Regions from separate parts of the Homo sapiens genome. Here all the other regions are linked to region 1. The links are contacts of gene promoters, found by promoter capture Hi-C in blood cells and fetal thymus (Javierre and others, 2016). All regions are on one chromosome and are shown on one strand. Each heading gives the region's core, a stretch centred on a gene start or on the middle of the fragment in contact. The rest is flanking DNA. Distances are from core to core; before and after follow the strand shown. Region 1 holds the start of NPIPB15 (nuclear pore complex interacting protein family member B15). Region 2 overlaps AP1G1 (adaptor related protein complex 1 subunit gamma 1). Region 3 holds the start of DHODH (dihydroorotate dehydrogenase (quinone)).

Region 1 (3,952 bases), core at 98-2,597:
GGTTTAGCTACAGGTCACGGAGAAGATCAGGGAAGCAACAGGACACGTGGGGCAAGGGAGCGTGAGGCTTAGGAGCAATTAGAGGGAGACAAAAAGGTTCTGCTATCCACCAAACCTTCTTCGGTCTGGGCCCTCCCTTAGCAACCCTGGGGCTTTATACTCCCTCTCCACCAATCCCTGATGACCCCGGTGGTGCCTCACAATGGACAATGCCAAGTAGCGCCCGCATCATTCCAATGACCCCTCCCCCATCTCAGTCTCCCACACTCCTCGCAAGGACAGGTCCTCTCTGGAACCTTCACAAACCTGATTTCTGGTCCTCCCCAACCAGCTCCCTGTCCCTGCTTCTGGGCTCTCCTTCCTTCCTGAGCTCCCAGGGTTCCTCAAGGTCACTTTTGGCGACAAAACATAAAAAACAAATGATGGCAGGATGGCAGGAAGAACTTCATACCCAAGCAGAGTGCCAGGTTTTACAGCCTCCGCTCAGCCATTCATATCCTAAGCAACAAAACATCAGCAGGATGCGGAAGGTCCCGATAGTAAACCATCTCCATCACATCCATGTAGCCATCCGTCCATCAACCTGTATCTCAGGAACAAATGTAGATACATTCATTTTAAGCATGCATGGTACATTTACAAAAATTAACCTGACTTATTTTGTTCCAGCAAATCTCAATATATTTGAGAGCAATCAAATCACACAGCATGTTTCTGATCATATAACTGTGCTAGAAGTCAATGATTAAAAGCTAATTCAAAATTATTATTTGCTTGGAAATTCAAAGTGCCCTTATAAGACATAAACATAAGAAAGAATCCAAAATGAAACAAGATTGCCTTTCAACTCAATGATGAGATCATAACATGGCAATAAAATGTCTCCCCCTGGCCTGGGAATTCCTCTTTGTGGCACAAGGTTGTGTGATCTCAAATCACCCCTAACCCACCTAGACATTTTAACATCTGAAACCGAGTGATGATGTCCTTATCTATAATCATCTTACTGCCTGTGTGTGTGGACTTTAAATTCTGAACCCAAATGAGGGGGAGAAAACCAAGTTGACCTTCATCATTGACCTCTCAGGGACGTCCAAGGAATCTGTGCATTTCAAGAAACAAAGTTCATCAGCTTCTCTCCTAAGGTATTTGCCCACAATACCCAGAGGGCTTGGCAGCATCATGTGTGATGGGTGGGGAGCTCCAAGCAGGTGGGCAGGACCCAGGGGTCTGGTGACCAGGACAGACCCCCACTGTCCATCACCTTTCCTGGCCCTGTCCTCAGCTGAACTTCCCACAGGCCTTCTGCCCGATCACACAGAGTGTGCCCAAACTCACTCAGGCCTCTGGCAGCTGAAAACCACTGCTTTAAATCCCTTTACCATTTACTATGACATAAGGTTATTGTAAACAGGAAATATTCTATTGATGCTACAAATGGAAAGCCAATGCCTTTACCATAAATAGAAAAACAACCCTAAGAAACAAGCAAAACAAAAACAAAACAGGGGCTGGGTGTGGTGGCTCACGCCTGTAATCCCAGCACTTTGGGAGGCCGAGGTGGGTGGATCACAAGGTCAGGAGTTCCAGACCAGCCTGGCCAATATGGTGAAACCCTGTCTCTAATAAAATACAAAAATTAGCCGGGTGTGGTGGTGGGCGCCTTAGTCCCACCTACTTGGGAGGCTGAGGCAGGAGAATAGTTTGAACCCGGGAGGCAGAGTCTGCAGTGAGCCGAGATTGCACCACTGCACTCCAGCCTAGGCGACAGAGCGAGACTCAGTCTCAAAAACAGCAACAACTACAAACAAACAAAAAACAGGGTTAACAAAACTATGGAATTCAATTCTATTTATATGCTGCAGCCATGTTCCAGCCCTAGATTTGGCTGGGCATGGTGGCTCACGCCTGTAATCCCAGCACTTTGGGAGGCTGAGGCAGGCGGATCACGAGGTTAGGAGTTCGAGATCAGCCTGACCAACATGGTGAAACCCCGTCTCTACTAAAAATACAAAAATTAGCCAGGCACGGTGGCACCCGCCTGTAATCCCAGCTACTCAGGAGGCTGAGGCAGGACAATCCCTTGAACCCAGGAGGTGGAGGTTGCAGTGAGCCGAGATCGTGCCATTGCACTCCAGCCTGGGTGACAGAATGGAATGAGACTCTGTCTCAAAAAAAAAGAAGCCCTCGGATTTCGGTTGTGTTGGTTGTAAAAGGAGAGACCAAGTAAGTGGGGGTTGAAGTCAGATTAGACCAAAAGTGAATGGCAGAGAGTACTATAATGTCCATGAAGGGTTGCTAGAGTCACCGTGATCATAGCCCAAGCAGAGACAGGGAAAGGAAGATGTGAGCAGAGTTTGGGGCCTCAAACATTGGAGGTTACTCGTGCAGCCCAGGAAAGGCTCCCCAAAGCCAGGATCAACCTCCCTTGCAGGCGGTCCCTCATGGAGGCATGGCCAGGCACCTTAGATTTGAGACCAGCTGTGTTGCTGCTGACCAGCTGTGTGACCCTGGGCTGGTTTCCTTGCGTACAATGGGAGTGCCAATGGCTGCATGCATGCAAAGACCATCTGAGGATAGGAGGAAGCAATCTGTTGAGCACCCGTGTACCTGAGTGTCATCACCTCCCAAAGGCATCCTTCGTTCCAGAGCTGGCACCTTGGAAGGCCCTTGGTTACTAAATGCAGTGATGATGGTAACAGCAGTAAATCATCATTTACGGCTGATGACGGAAGGCCAGGGGGTAGGGCTCCTAGGTCCTGGATAAGAATGAGGGTCTGGGCACTTCTGGGGACAGCTGAGTGGTAGAACTCCTGGGTCTCCAGGGGGCAGGTCCATCTTCAGTGGCATTGGGCCTAGGCTGGGATGCTGAGTTATCCACTGGAGCATCAGCAGTACAGGCAGGCACAGAGGCAGTGGATCCATCGGAGGTGGCAGGTGTAGGATCATCTGGTGAGCAAGTAGAGTCACCAAGCCTGGCTTCTAGATATAAGAGAAGTTCCTGGGCCGGGTGCCACGGCTCAAGCCTGTAATCCCAGCACTTTGGGAGGCCGAGGCGGGTGGATCACGAGGTCAGGAGATCGAGACCATCCTGGCTAACACGGTGAAACCCCGTCTCTACTAAAACTACAGAAAAATTAGCCGGGCGTGGTAGCAGGCACCTGTAGTCGTAGCTACTCGGCAGGCTGAGGCAGGAGAATGGCGTGAACTCGGGAAGCGGAGCTGGCAGTGAGCCGAGATTGCGCCACTGCACTCCAGCCTGGGCGACAGAGGGAGACTCCGTTTCAAAAAAAAAAAAAAAAAAAAAAAACCAAAACAAAACCAAAAAAAGAATGTTCCAGAAAATTGCCATTTATTTATCTAATAGGTACTGTTAAGCTAGAATATTTGAATTTTGAAGAAAATAGTAGCCGAGCATGGTGGTGGGCACCCATGATTCCAGCTCCTTGGGAGGCTAAAGCAGAAGCATCACTTGACCCCAGGAATTCAAGACCAGCATGGGCAACATAGCGAGACCCTGTCTTTAAAAACTTTTTTTTTTTTTTTTGAGACAGAGTTAGCTCTTGTTGCCCAGGTTGGAATGCAGTGGCGTGATCTCAGTTCTGATCTCAGAGGCGGGCGGATCACAAGGTTTGGAGTTCGAGACCAGCCTGACCAATATGGTGAAACCCAGTCTCTACTAAACATACAAAAATTAGCGGGGCATGGTGGTGCATGCCTGTAATCCCAGCTACTCAGGAGGCTGAGGCAGGAGAATCACTTCAACCCGGGAGGCGGAGGTTGCAGTGAGCCAAGATCGCACCACTGCACTCCAGCCTGGGCGACAGACTGAGGCTCCATCTCAAAAAAAAAAAAAGATTGTTCTCGAAGTCAGGGCTGACAACCCTCTCAACCACAGCAGCGGTGGTAGGGACAGAGAGGTCCGAACAGAGGAGAGGCACTGAGGAGACAG
Region 2 (3,952 bases), core at 882-3,381, 2.6 Mb after region 1:
AGAAAACTGTGCTAAAATTTTATCATAAAATATTTTTCTGAATGGGACTGGGAATCATAATTTTAAGTTCTTATTCTGTTTCCTCTGTTTCAATGAGTCACCATCTTGTTCATATCAGTAATTTGGTACCCCATCCGTTGGAATTACCTTTATAATATGCCTTTAAAAGGTTCATATCTAGATTTTGTCACCTGCACGTATGATCACAGTGCCATTTTCATTTAGTGTATAATAATAGCCACTTTTTTTTTTCTTTGAGATGGAGTCTCGCCCTGTTGCCCAGGCTGGAGTGCAATGGTGTGATCTCAGCTCACTGCAAACTCTGCCTCCTGGGTTCACGCCATTCTCCTTCCTCAGCCTCCCTAGTAGCTGGGACTACAGGCGCCTGCCACCATGCCTGGCTAATTTTTTTGTGTTTTTAGTAGAGACGGGATTTCACTGTGTTAGCCAGGGTGGTCTCGATCTGACCTCGTGATCTGCCCGCCTCGGCCTCCCAAAGTGCTGGGATTACAGGCGTGAGCCACCATTCCCAGCCCACTTTTTTTTTTTTTTTTTTTTTTTTGAGGCAGGGTTTCGCTCTTGTCACTCAGGCTGGAGTACAATGGCACAATCTTGGCTCATTGCAGCCTTCACTACCCAGGTTCAAGCGATTCTCCTGCCTCAGCCTCCTGAGTAGCTGGGCTACAGGCACCTGCCACCACACCCGGCTAATTTTTGTATTTTTGGTAGAGACAGGGTTTCACCATGTTGTCCAGACTAGTCTTGAACTCCTGACCTCAAATGATCCACCGTCTTGGCCTCCCAAAGTGCTGGAATTACAGGTGTGAGCCACCACACCCAGCCTAGTTATTGGAAGACTTTTAAATATGTTTTAAACAACTTGGGTATGTGAGTCTACTTTATAAATAGTAAATTTTATGAAATCTAAATACAGTTCAGCTATTTCTTTTTTTTTCTTTTTAGTTTAGCTATTTCTGATGAAAATGTACAAATTGAGATGTGCTGTAAGTGTAAAGTACATACTGTATATAGAAGCTTTAGTGCAAAAGCAAGTGTAAAATACCTAATTATAATTTTTGTGTTGATCATACGTTGAAATGATATTTTAGATATATTGATTAAAGAATATTATTAAAACTAATTTCACCTTTTTAAAACTTTTTACTACAGTATCTAGTATGGTGCTGATAGAAATAAAACACAAGCTACATAGAAATTTAAAAATTTCTAGTAGCTATATTTTAAAAGTCTTAAGTTTTGCAATAAAACTTAAGGGGTAGGATGGACACGGTGACTTACGCCTGTAATCCTGGCACTTTGGGAGGCCAAGGTAGGGGGATCACCTGAAGTCAGGAGTTTGAGACCATCCTGGCCAACATGGTGAAACTCTGTCTCTACTAAAAATACAAAAATTAGCCAGGCGTGATGGTGGGTGCCTGTAATCCCAGCTACTTGGGAGGCTGAGGCAGGAGAATCACTTGAACCTGGAAGGTGGAGGTTGCAGTGAGCCGAGATCATACCATTGCACTCCAGCCTGGGCGACAAAGCGAGACTCTGTCTCAAACAACAACAACAAAAAAATATCTTAGCCCTGCCTTGCTGTACAAAGGATTTGAGATGGCATAAACTACCAGCATCTACATTAAAGAGAAAAATAATAGTAGAAATTAAGAGTTGGAAAAAGGAAGCATTTAGAGCATAAGGCCAGTGTAGTTGCTGTTGGTGCGACAGCTAAGGCAAGAAAAGAGACAGTCACCTCTCAGGTAGTTGTTATTGCCAAGATGGAAGAGCAAAACTGCAGAGAACCAGATTGCCTGGATGTGACTTCTGGCTTTGAGCAAGATCTTTAACCTTTCTGTGTCTCAGTTTCCTCATCTGTAAAATGGGGACAATCTTAATGCCTACTTTATAGTGTTATTATGAAGATTAAGTTATAAGTGTTAGACACATTTTGTATATAAAAAGCCTCATGTTATGCATTTTACCATTTCCTAAAGGACGGCAATGTTTTTTGAAGCACTGAATTCTAAGAGATTTTTTATATGGACCTTTTGTCTAGGAGTCTCTTAATAATGTAAGAGACAGTATCCTCAGCATTTTTATAACAAAAGTGGTGATAGATTTCCTGTAGTGTGTGTAACCTTTTGCGTGTGTAGGTTAAGCACAACCCAGAAATATTAATGAATTATCTAAAGATAAGTAGGTAGATTGCAGGAGTAGAAAACTGGTGGCTCGGGGCCAAATTCTTCCACAGATGTGTTCTTTTTTGTCCTGTGTGGTATTTAAAATTGTTTCTGCCAGTACATAAAAAAGAAAAAAGAATTTCCATAGAAATCTGGACTTCTAGTTTCTCTTAGAAACATAGTAAGATTTGTGGAATGGAAATCTACATTTCCATATGTCAGTAGTGTGCTGCTTTTAGGCTGGGCCTGATTCTGTTTTTCCTCAGTTCTAGCCTTGCTTGCCATACCCAATTACCTGTGTAGGATATTCTTCCCTTCCATCTGTGTAGCATAGGACTGCACTTCTTTAGCTTCTCTAAATTTTACAATGTTTTCTGTACAGTCTTATACATCTTTTTAAAAAATTAAAAAAAAATTTCCTTTAAAACACAGGATTTTTAAGTCTTAACACATCTTTGGAGAAATATATTTGTAGGTTCTTTAGAGCTCTTGTTTCTGTTGCAAATAGTATCCTTTAAAATTTTAAATAATTATGTTGTAGATCTGTAGTGATATAATTGATTTTTAATAATATTTATCTACTTTGCCACATTATTGAACTTGGTTCTAAGAGTCTCTGTGGACGTCATTGTTTCCATGTAGTCAATACTACTATTGTCTGCAAACAATGGCAGTTCTTTTTTTTCCTTTGATATCCTTATACATTTTCTTATTTTCTTATTACACTGTACAGGTAGTACATTATTGCAAATAAGTGATGATAATAGCCACTCTTGTTAAAGCCGTAAACAAATGCTCTACAGTAATATGTGGGTGACTGTCATAGGGTTTAGTAGACACGCTTTCTCACATTAAGGAATTTTTTTCTTAAAATAAAGTACTTAAGCTAGTACTATTCCTTGAAAAGCCTTAGAATTAATGACCAGACCAGAAGCAATGAGCTATCCTTAAGCCTAGACTGTGGTCTCCAGATACTATTTTCAGCCCATTGGAAAGATGGCTGATCCCAAATCCAGGGTAAGGAAATGTACAAAATAAGCTTGAATGATGTTACTATGCCAGAAAGCAAGAAAGACTGCAAAGATCATGTCAGAAGGTTTCAGTAATCACCAGAAGAGGCAGTCATACCCCCAAAAGAGATAATTTGAGTATTAATAAGAATAATAATCGGCTGGGCATGGTGGCTCACACCTGTAATCCCAGCACTTTGGGAGGCCGAGGCAGGCAGATCACGAGGTCAGGAGTTCAATACCATCCTGGCCAACATGATGAAACCCTGTCTCTACTAAAAATACAAAAATTAACCAGGTGTGGTGTCAGGCGCCTATTAATCCCAGCTACTCAGGAGACTGAGGCAGGAGAATCGCTTGAACCCGGGAGGTGGAGGTTGCAGTGAGCCAAGACTGCGCCACTGCACTCCACCCTGGGCAACAGAGCGAGACTCCATCTCAAAATAATAATAAAAATAATAATAATAATAATAATAATTGTAGGCTGGGTGCGGTGACTAAACTTGTAATCTCAGTCTTTTGTGAGGCTGAGGCGGGCAGATTGCTTGAGCTCAGGAGTTCGAGACCAGCCTGACAAACATAGTGAAACCCCATCTCTACTAAAAATACAAAAATTAGCCGGGCATGGTGGCAGATACCTGTAATCCCAGGTATTCCGGAGGCTGAGGCTTGAGAATCACTTGAACCTGGGAGGCGGAGGTTGCAGTGAGGCGAGATCGTGCCACTGCACTCCATCCTGGTTGGCAGAGTGAGACTCTG
Region 3 (3,952 bases), core at 861-3,360, 2.4 Mb after region 1:
GGGAGGCAGAAGTGGGTGGATCCCTTGAGCCCAGGAGGTCCAGGCTGCAGTGAGCCGGGATGACACCACTGCACTCCACCTGGGCGACAGAGTCAGACTCTCTCAAAAATGTATACATACAAAGACATTATACATATATTCCATTTCAAGGTAACGGGGGTGTAAAATATAAAACAGAAGCTTCAGATCTTATTGGATCAAAAGTGGTTCACAATGCTTTTCTCTATCACTGCCACATGCTGAGTTATTCATTCATTAGTTCAGTCATTCATCAAATACTGATTGAGCAAAGATGACAAAACAGATCTTGCCCCTACCCTCATGGAGAGTGTGATCTTATGAAGCGACAGACAGAAATTAATGATCATGCAAATATGTAGTCATAGCAACTGTGATGAAGGATAAAAAGTATAAGGTAATGGAAGTATTCAACCTAATCTTAGAGGTAAGGAAAGGCTTCCTTAAGGAAATGACTTAAAGCTGATACTCAAGGGATAAACGAGTTGATGGGGGTCTCTCTGAACCTATTCTGGTTCAATTATTTAAAAAAATAGTTAACCAGAAGGCAGTACGGAGAGGAAAAAGTGTAAAGGCTCTCTCAGTAGCAGAAGAGAATGAAAAAGGGAGAAAGTTTGGAACAGAGGAGTGAGGGAAAGTAAGGCTTAAGACGAGGCAGGAGAAAGGAGCAGGAGTCTTGGCCAAAATAAAGATTTGGGTTTTGTTCCCTAAGCCAGGAAATGACATGATTAGATTTGCTTTTAAGGATCCTTCCAAACTGCTAAAGACATGTAGATCAAGTATTCATTGGCTGGGCGCGGTAGCCCACGCCTGTAATCCCACCACTTTGGGAGGCTGAGGCGGGAAGATCCCTTGAGGCCAATAGTTCTAGACCAGCCTGGGCAACACAGTGAGATCCCATCTCTCTCCATTTATTTATTTTAAAAAGAGACTCAGGCCGAGCGCGGTGGCTCACGCCAGTAATCCCAGCACTTTGGGAGGCTCACGAGGTGAGGAGTTCGAGACCAGCCTGACCAACATGGTGAAACTGCAGTCTCTACTAAAAATACCAAAATTAGCCAGTCGTGGTGGCGCGCGCCTGTAATCTCAGCTACGCAGGAGGCCGAGGCAGGAAAATCGGTTGAACCCGGGAGGCGGAGGTTGCAGTGAGCCAAGATCGCGCCACTGCACTCCAGCCTGGGCGACAGCCCAAGACTCCGTCTCAAATAAACATATAAAAAGAAAGTCAAGGTTATTCATTGCCTCCCTTGGAGACTGTACTCCCCCCCACCATGTCAATCAACAAATATCTGAACACCTATTTTTTTTTTTTTTTTTTTTTTTTTTGAGACGGAGTCTCGCTCTGTCGCCCAGGCCGGACTGCGGACTGCAGTGGCGCAATCTCGGCTCACTGCAAGCTCCGCTTCCCGGGTTCACGCCATTCTCCTGCCTCAGCCTCCCGAGTAGCTGGGACTACAGGCGCCCGCCACCGCGCCCGGCTAATTTTTTGTATTTTTAGTAGAGACGGGGTTTCACCTTGTTAGCCAGGATGGTCTCGATCTCCTGACCTCATGATCCACCCGCCTCGGCCTCCCAAAGTGCTGGGATTACAGGCGTGAGCCACCGCGCCCGGCCTCTGAACACCTATTACATACGGGGATACAGCTAAGAACTTTTCACAGAGACCCCCGCCCCTAACAAAACTTTACCTAAAAGGGTTGGGAGCATGTCCTACTCTAGTTTCATTCCCCGTTGGATCCGGCACACAACGCTAGGCGGTCATGTGTTCACTAAGCACCCCTGTGCCAGGCTCAAAAACATGGCCCAGGCGCAGACACTCAGATCAGCACCCACCCAGACCTGCAGGCGCTGTCTGCACACGCCTGACCGAGTCCACGTGCAAATGCACACGCACGAGCATTTGCAGGAGACCCCGGAAACACGCACACGTCCCAGGGGGGCCCACACTCCCGGAGCCGCCTTCGGTCCATGCCTCGCCCGGCCTGACTCTCCGTTCTCGCCCTCCCCGGTCCCTGGTCCCCCATCCACACTGCTCACTCGCGGGACTCACTTTCAGGTGTCTCCACGCCATGCTCCTTCCGTCATTAAGCCCGCCCCTGTCTCCCTTCCATTGGAGGAGATGGTGGCGGCCCCTCTTGTCTCCGCCCCTTAGCCGCCAACCCACCAGTCGCCGGGCAGAAGGGTTGAGAGGACGCCTCCGCGCAGCGGGGAAGGCCCGGCACCACCCCCAGGTTCTGGTTGGGTGCACGTGCGCAGTAGCGGCGGCCACGCCTCTTCCGCCCGCCCTCTCCCAGCCTGCCCGCTTGATCGCCGGCTGTTGGCGGAGATGAGATGCCGCTGCACGGTGTTTGTCCGTACTACCGCAGCCTCGAATCCAAGAGTCCGCGAGCATCAAAACACTGTGTTTCACACCAGAAATATTTGTACAGTTTTTATCACTTTAAAAAATAAATTTTACTGCTGTGTTGATATAAAGATGAATATGTTAATATATAAACTTTTTCAACTTAAAAGTTGATTTTTCTTAAGGTTTTTTAAGGAAATTAAAACATTTTCTTGAGGCCGGGCATGGTGGCTCACGCCTGTAGTCCCAGCACTTTGGGAGGCTGAGGCAGGCAGATCACTTGAGGTCAGGAGTTCGAGACCTGGTCAACACCCAAAACCCCGTGTCTACTAAAAAATAAAATAAAATACAAAAATTAGCCGGGCGTAGTGGCAGGCGCCTGTAATCCCAGGTACTCGGGAGGCTGAGGCAGGAGAATCGCTTGAACCCAGAAGGTGGAGGTTGCAGTGAGCCGAGATAGCACCACTGCACTCCAGCCTGGGCGACAAAGCAAGACTCTGTCTCAAAAACAAACAAAGAAAAATAACCAAAAAAAAAAAATTTCTTGAGATCCTAAAAGTGTCAGAGGCCCTTCCCTGGCCCTGCGCCTGTTGTGCCTCCTGGAGAAAGTGGCCCTGGTTATACCTTGGCATTGTGGTGCAACAGATGTGGAGGTATTTTTTTAAATACTGTTTCTAATCAAGACCCTGAGTGTGCAGGCCCGTTGGAGTGTGGTTTACTGCGGTGATTTTTTTTTTTTTTTTTTTTTTTTTTTGACAGAGTCTTGCTCTGTTGCCCAGGCTGCAGTGCAGTGGCGCGATCTCGGCTCACTACAAGCTCCGCCTCCCGGGTTCACGCCATTCTCCTGCGTCAGCCTCCCGAGTAGCTGGGACTACAGGCGCCCGCAACCATGCCCGGCTCATTGTTTTGTATTTTAGAGACGGGGTTTCACCGTGTTAGCCAGGATGGTACTGCGGTGATTTATGACGACCTAATGTGTCACTTTGTAGTCCTCTGAAGCAATCGTGCCCTCACGAAGAATTTTGAAATGTCTTACCTAATGATGTCCTGGCCGTTGGAGAATAGCCTCTGTAGACTTAGGTGTCAACAGCATTAATCAGATACTTATTGTTTGGAGGCTCTACACCCATCCGTGTCATTTTTGTCCAGTTGCAGTGTTCCCGCCATCAGCTGAAATAGCTGGGTTATTGTCGTAGCAGAAATTAGAGCAAAAGAAAGGTGTATGAAATATCTTGAGTCAAGCCATTTTTGAGCTTCATCAGTTGTATGAAGCTATCAAATTAGAACAAATTCACAGACCCAGCTGAGACTTAGAGACAGATTCTACTGCAATAATTTACATGCTAGGTGTTTCAGTCTACATGCAATAGAAATCATTGAAAACATTTATCAAGGTAAAAGTTATGCTTATCAACCTGTCTTCCCTTTACACTTTAATGGAATAAGTTAATTCAGCACACCTTAGTCAACATAAATCATTGCTCATCTGGGACAAAAAACTACTTACATGTTTATCCTCAGTTCTGAGCACTCTCTCACCAATTTTTTGGTCGTTTAAATTAAAACTTTTATTGATAGAGTGCTTGTGTC

What was found. Contacts are between HindIII fragments. The CHiCAGO score rates a contact against its expected background, and 5 or more counts as called.
Region 2: a contact is called between a fragment that was not itself captured here and the fragment with the promoter of NPIPB15 in region 1, in 1 of 17 cell types (M0 macrophages). The highest score is 5.2, in M0 macrophages.
Region 3: a contact is called between the fragment with the promoter of DHODH here and the fragment with the promoter of NPIPB15 in region 1, in 4 of 17 cell types (naive CD8 T cells, naive CD4 T cells, total CD4 T cells and 1 more). The highest score is 7.5, in naive CD8 T cells.

Annotation. Positions count from the first base shown.
Region 1 is chr16:74,373,701-74,377,652 of GRCh38, reverse strand. It overlaps NPIPB15 (nuclear pore complex interacting protein family member B15), which reads right to left and starts at 1,347. Exons shown (of 8, transcript NM_001306094.2): 1 at 307-1,347. The HindIII fragment of the contact is 9,807 bases long and covers 1-3,952 here.
Region 2 is chr16:71,782,186-71,786,137 of GRCh38, reverse strand. All of the region lies in intron 2 of AP1G1 (adaptor related protein complex 1 subunit gamma 1), which reads left to right. Among named protein-coding and RNA genes, the nearest start is that of AP1G1, 25 kb to the left of the region's middle. The HindIII fragment of the contact is 2,187 bases long and covers 1,038-3,224 here.
Region 3 is chr16:72,006,902-72,010,853 of GRCh38, reverse strand. DHODH (dihydroorotate dehydrogenase (quinone)) reads right to left here and starts at 2,110. Exons shown (of 9, transcript NM_001361.5): 1 at 2,069-2,110. The coding sequence starts at 2,089. RefSeq lists silencers at 2,116-2,315, 2,259-2,358. The HindIII fragment of the contact is 5,632 bases long and covers 183-3,952 here.